Linked DNA regions of Homo sapiens: region 1 is linked to region 2. Evidence: promoter capture Hi-C in human tissues and cell types (Jung and others, 2019). All regions are on one chromosome and are shown on one strand. The core of a region is centred on a gene start or on the middle of the fragment in contact, and the rest is flanking DNA. Distances in the headings are between cores, read along the strand shown. Region 1 overlaps CUL9 (cullin 9). Region 2 holds the start of ZNF318 (zinc finger protein 318).

Evidence for each region. The method cuts DNA at HindIII sites, captures the fragments that hold promoters and counts their contacts. A contact is called where the count stands out against the background at its distance.
Region 1: a fragment that was not itself captured here is called in contact with the fragment with the promoter of ZNF318 in region 2 in 3 of the 25 tissues and cell types used here (H1 embryonic stem cells, liver and mesenchymal stem cells).

Annotation. Positions count from the first base shown.
Region 1 is chr6:43,197,315-43,200,494 of GRCh38, forward strand. CUL9 (cullin 9) reads left to right here. Exons shown (of 41, transcript NM_015089.4): 12 at 1,295-1,541; 13 at 1,952-2,057; 14 at 2,615-2,842; 15 at 3,122-3,180. Among named protein-coding and RNA genes, the nearest start is that of CUL9, 17 kb to the left of the region's middle. The HindIII fragment of the contact is 5,147 bases long and covers 1-3,180 here.
Region 2 is chr6:43,368,196-43,371,159 of GRCh38, forward strand. ZNF318 (zinc finger protein 318) reads right to left here and starts at 1,452. Exons shown (of 10, transcript NM_014345.3): 1 at 772-1,452. The coding sequence starts at 1,170. LOC124901227 (atherin-like) reads left to right here and starts at 1,169. Exons shown (of 2, transcript XM_047419609.1): 1 at 1,169-1,192; 2 at 1,228-2,964. The coding sequence starts at 1,169. The coding sequence ends at 1,926. RefSeq lists silencers at 856-925, 936-1,125, 1,216-1,415, 1,606-1,705. The HindIII fragment of the contact is 7,376 bases long and covers 1-2,964 here.

The sequences.
Region 1 (3,180 bases), core at 329-2,828, 170 kb before region 2:
GGATTGCAGGTGTGAGCCACTGCACCTGGCTGGAAATTGCCTTCTTGAATGGCTTTAAACATATGTGGATTCATATCCATCTGGGCTAGGTTTGGCCCAGTATTATTGGACAGTAGAAGACTCATTGAAATGACATCTAGGGAAGCCTTTCTCTTTTTTTGTTTTAAGCTTAACTGGTTTTTTTTTGGAGGTGGAGTCTCACTCTGTCGCCCAGGCTGGAATGCAGTTGCACGATCTCTGCTCACTGCAAGCTCCGCCTCCCGGGTTCAAGGAATTCTCCTGCCTCAGCCTCCTGAGTAGCTGGGATTACAGGTGCGCACCACCACACCCAGCTAATTTTTGTATATTTAGTAGAGACAGGGTTTCACCATGTTGGTCAGGCCGGTTTTGAACTCCTGACCTCGTGATCTGACCGCCTTGGCCTCCCAAAGTGCTGGGATTAGAGGCGTGAGCCACTGTGCCTGGCCTAAGCTTAACTTTCTCTTCACAGAATAGGGAGGCCTTCTTAAGAGAAATTATAATTTATGGTACAGAACACTTGTGCCTGGAAACATTAGATATTGATACTGGGGAAGAAACCCTTTGTGATTGAAAAACAAGTGAAAACCTAGAAGTGTGGAGGGATATTGAAATAGGAAATACGTGGCCAGGTGCAATAGCTCATGCCTTTAATCCCAGCACTTTGGGAGGCTGAGGCAGGCAGATCACTTGAGGTCAGCAGTTTGAGACCAGCCCGGCCAACATGGTGAAACCGCATCTTTACTAAAAATACAAAAATTAGCCGGGCACGGTGGTAGGTGCTTGTAATCCCAGCTACTTGGGAGGCTGAGGCAGGAGAATCACTTGAGCCCAGGAGTTGGAGGTCACAGTGAGCCAAGATCATGCCACTGCACTCCAGCCTGGGTGACAGCGCTCTGTGTATTCCTACAAAATAGGAAATATGTATGTATCTTTTAGTCTGTGTACCTAAAGCCACCATGCAGGTAGTACAGGGATATAATCATCATAGTTAATATTTACTATAACTAACATTTAATAATAGGACTATAAGAGATTTAAAATGTCTTGTGTTTAACTCGACAGTGTTTGCTATACTAGGTTTTTTTTTCAAATCTGATTAGGTTTGTATTTGGGGTCAGGAAAGAAAACCCCTCATAGTTTGGTTAAAAACTATAGACATCCTCAATATAGAAGGAAAATTTTGGGGTGATTTTCTGGACCTTCCCAGTTCTCAGTTTGACAAACTGGTAAGACTCTTCATCCACATTTTTCCCTCTGGTGTGTCTGGCTGCAGCACTAGAGACCCCCATCATCCAGGGTCAGGATGGGTCCCCTGAGCTACTGATTCGATCCCTGGTTGGGGGCCCATCTGCAGAACTACTCCTGGACTTGGAGCGTGTGCTGTGCCGTGAGGGCAGCCCCGGAGGTGCCGTGAGGCCCCTCCTCAAGCGCCTCCAGCAGGAGACCCAGCCTTTCCTCCTGTTGCTGCGGACTCTGGATGCTCCGGGGCCCAACAAGACTCTGCTGCTGTCTGTGCTGAGGTGAGGGGCCTGTTGAGGCACCATGCATTGGGACGAGGGAAACTGGCAGACTTCAGGGACTTCACTTGTTTCTTTTCTGTTTTCTTTTTTTTTTTTTTGAGTTGGAGTTTCACTCTTGTTGCCCAGGCTGGAGTGCAATGGCACGATCTCAGCTCACTGCAACCTCTACCTCCCAGGTTCAAGTGGTTCTCCTGCCTCAGCCTCCCGAGTAGCTGGGATTGCAGGCATGTGCCACCATGCCCAGCTAATTTTGTATTTTTAGTAGAGATGGGGTTTCTCCATTTTGGTCAGGCTGGTCTCGAACTCCCGACCTCAGGTGATCCGCCCACTTCGGCCTCCCAAAGTGCTGGGATTACAGGCATGAGCCACTGTGCCTGGCCTGACTTCACTCGTTTCTACCCCCTCACCAGGGTCATAACCCGACTGCTGGATTTCCCTGAGGCAATGGTCCTCCCCTGGCACGAGGTCTTGGAGCCCTGCCTCAACTGCCTGAGTGGCCCTAGCAGTGACTCCGAGGTACCAGAACCCTGGCAAGGAGAAGAGAGGGAAGGGCAGCATCTGGGGCACCAACTCCTTGTGAGGCTCTGGAGGGCACAGCAGAGCCTTTCTGAATGGATCTTGGGGCACTGGGATGGGTGTAGGAGGAGGAAGGGTAATGTAATCTAAGAATCTCCAGAACTGGAATCTTTGAAGTATAAACCTTTTAGATGATTTTAGATTTGGAGTTTAGATTCTGGACTAAGGAGAAGCCCACATTCACCAATCCAGACAGCTGTCCTCCCTTCCGGGTTTGTGCATTGGAGAGCAAGGCTCAGGCACCAGGGTTAACATAGCTTGGCCTGGGCAGGAAGCAGCCTGGAAAGCTGTGCCCAAGCTCTGTTCTGCCAACTCACTCTGGAGTCCCAGCACTCCTCTATTTTACTCCACCCTGAATTTGGTACTCTTGTTTCCCTGGGCGTTGGCATGTCTCCACAATCTCAGCCACGACACTTCCTTTACTGAACCCTCTCCTCAATCCTTACATGTCCTACCTCTTGTTTCCTGTAAATTAATCTATGTGGCTCTGGGCTCAGATTGTTCAGGAGCTGACCTGCTTCCTACATCGCCTGGCCTCGATGCATAAGGACTATGCTGTGGTGCTCTGCTGCCTGGGAGCAAAAGAGATCCTCTCCAAAGTCCTGGACAAGCACTCAGCTCAGCTGCTGCTGGGCTGTGAGCTTCGGGACCTGGTGACAGAGTGTGAGAAGTACGCACAGCTCTATAGCAACCTCACCTCCAGCATCCTGGCCGGCTGCATTCAGGTGAGGAGCGGCTGTGGGTATGCAGCTGAGAGAATGCAAGTCAGAAGCAGGAGAAGGGGATTCACTGTGTTCCTCTTTGGTATCCCTGTTTGGCACAGGTTGTAGCAAATCTGGGGCACTTGTTTCCTAACCTTGACTCCACATGGTTCTGTCAAAATGTGGGGAGAGAGGAGTTGAGTATACCGTTGACCCTTGACTTTTTCTCTCTACCTGTTTCTGGGCATTTCTCTGTGTTCCTCCCTCTCCTCTTCCTCATTCTCCCTGATGTTCCGGCTGCAGATGGTGCTGGGCCAGATCGAAGACCACAGACGAACCCACCAACCCATCAATATCCCCTT
Region 2 (2,964 bases), core at 202-2,701:
TCAAATCATGGATTTGGGGAACCAGGCGGATCTGAGTTGAAGCACAGCTCCACCACTTAGCCGTGTCACCTCAGTCGAGTTACTTGAACCTCTCTGGGTTGGTTCCTCGGCTGTACAACAAGGAATAGTATTAACTGCCTCACTTCAAAGACTTGTGAGGGTTAAAATAATGTGCAAAGTGAAAGGCTAGGCATAATTCCTGACATAGAACTCGATAAGAGGTAGTGGCTATGGCAGTGACTGTGGTCCTGCACACTTCATTCCGAAGCAGCAGCTCCAATTCATTTAAGCTAACAGTTTACACTCTAGACGTAAAGCCTGGTAGGGTTCAAGCGTCCCTAACTCGCCACAAAAACGGACATTTCGGCTTTTTCCCCTAAGATCCAGGAAGGCAGCTCAGGTGTAAGGGGATGAAAAGTACGGAACCCCGAGGACACATCAACTCTACAAAAAGTACCAAGACACACGGTTTGGACGAAATGCCCCTCGCCTTGGCAAACTTTCCACACCTCACCCGGCATGAGAGAAACAGCCTATTCCTAAGGAACGGAGCGCGCACTCCCGACGAGACGCCCGTGCGCTCCCGAGTCCGTTATTGTGTCAACGCTCCCGGGTCTGACAGAAGCCTCCAGGCTCGGCATCCCCGAGGGAGTTGGCCGGAGGCTTCGCGCTTAGGACCCTGGTCTGGAGGCCCCGGGCGTTTCTGGAAACGGGAATTCCGGGGGAGGGGACTGGGGGATGGAGGGAGTCCTGGACGAGGGGTGGGATTACCCGGCTGCCGCTGTCGCCTGGATGGTCTCCGCGGCCGTCCCGGGCATAGTCGGCGCGGGACTCCCCCCGGCTGCTGCCTCTGAAGCCGGCCGGGCCCGGCGGGAAGAGTCGTCGGCCCCGCGGTGGCGACGGGGAGCCGCGACGGGCCCGAGGCGGGGACGGGGAGACGCGACGACCCCGTGGCGGGGACGGCGAGGCCCGGCGGCCGCGGTGCCCTGAGGGCGAGCGGGGTCGGCGAGCCGGGGTCCGCGACGAGGAGCCGGAGGGCGGAGGCGGCGGTGAGCTGCGGCGAGCCGGGCCTGAGGAGGAGCCAGAGCTGCGGCCGCTGCGCGGGCCGCCCCCGCCGTCGTCTTTAGGCCGGTGGGAAGAGACGGAGGAGCGAGCGCTGCTGCGGTACATGGTTCTTGCAGCGGCGGCCACGGCGACAGCTCTGACCCGGGGGCGCCCTAGACGCAGGCTCGGAGCGCGCCGCCGCAGCTGCAGCCGCCGCCACCTCGGCCGCTGCGCGCCGCCTCAGCCGCGGGAGCAGCCCCCTCCCCTCGGCCCCGCGTCGCCCCGGGGGCCCGGCCGAGCGCGCCCCCGCGGCTGGCGGTTGGAGGGCGCGAGCACGCGTCCGACACACCCCCCCCCGCCTCCGGGGTTCCCCGCTCCTCCACTCAGGGAGCGGCCGCAGGAACCAAGAAAAGTGGGGAGGAGCACAGACGCCGGCGCGAGGCTGGGCGAGGGGAGGGGAAGCGAAGCGCGCGCCCTGAGCTCTGCACGCCCCGCCTCCGAATCCTCAAGATGGCGGCCGCAGAGCCGCCCACTTCCCCCTCCCGCGGCCGCCACGTGACCCCTGTGGCCTCCGCGCGGGGTGGGCGGAGCGGAAGGAAGGGCTTCTCTGGAGAGGGATCTGGTTTTCCGGGGATGCTCCAGGCCTCTGGACTTAGGGGTTTGGAGACCGTGCGGAGGTGTCTTCGCTCTTTCGTGCCGCCCCTCAAGCCTCTTAATTTAGGGATGGACACGAAATGGTTGAAAACCATTCGTGATAATATAAACGGGCCTGTAAACGTTAGCTGTGTGGGAGGTTACGGACCCCGGCAGGAGCGCCCACCGAAATCCTGTCCCCAGCTGAAGCAACACGACCCGCATCAGTTTACTTTCCAGTTTGCCTAATTTCTAGAGGTTGAAATTGAGGATAGGAAAGTACGAGGTGGAGGTGGTGGGCCAGAATCAAACCCAAAATAGACGTTGTCAGGCCTCTGAGCCCAAGCTAAGCCATCATATCCCCTATGACCTGCACGTATACATCCAGATGGCCTGAGGCAACTGAAGAGCCACAAAAGAAGTGAAAATAGCCTTAACTGATGACATTCCACCATTGTGATTTGTTCCTGCCCCACCCTAACTGACAGGATATATTCTCCCCCTTGCCCTTAAGTAGGTGCTTTGTAATATTCTCCCCCGCCCTTAAGAATGTACTTTGTACACCTATCCCAAACCTATAAGAACTAATGATAATTCCACCACCCTCTGCTGACTCCTTTTTCGGACTCAACCCGCCTGCACCCAGGTAAGATAAACAGCCTTGTTGCTCACACGAAGCCTGTTTGGTGGACTCTCTTCACACGTTTTCGAGCTGTTTTCTGACTAAAGTACTTGTGGTCATGGTGGAGGTCCTTCATTACCAGGGGCCCACATCATGACCAACTGGAGGCGTGGCAAGTTTTTGTAAGAGATCCAGGCATGCCCCCTCCCCTGGCCTAAGTCCAGAATTTTCCTAGATGCCAATCTCAGGGCCCTGCATCCTAAATACAAAAGTGGGCCAGGCGCAAAGGGTCACGCCTATAATCCCACCATTTTGGGAGGCCGGGGCAGGAGGATTGCTTGAGCCTGAGAGTTCGAGACCAGCCTGGGCAACGTAGAAGGACCTCCATTTCTAAAAAAAAAAAAAAAAAATTTGCCGAGTGTGGTGGCACGTTCCTGTACCCCAGCTACTCGGGAGGTTGAGGCTGCGGTGAGCTGTGATCATGCCACTGCACTCCAGCCTGGGTGACAGAGTGAGACCCTCTCTCAAAAAATACATCCATATATATATATATCCATTTCCATACGTTCTTATAATGGCATATACTCAGTAAAAATGTATAAAATTTTTACTAGTTGACTACTTTTACCCAGCTTCACATTTTATATAATTTATATAAAATAAGA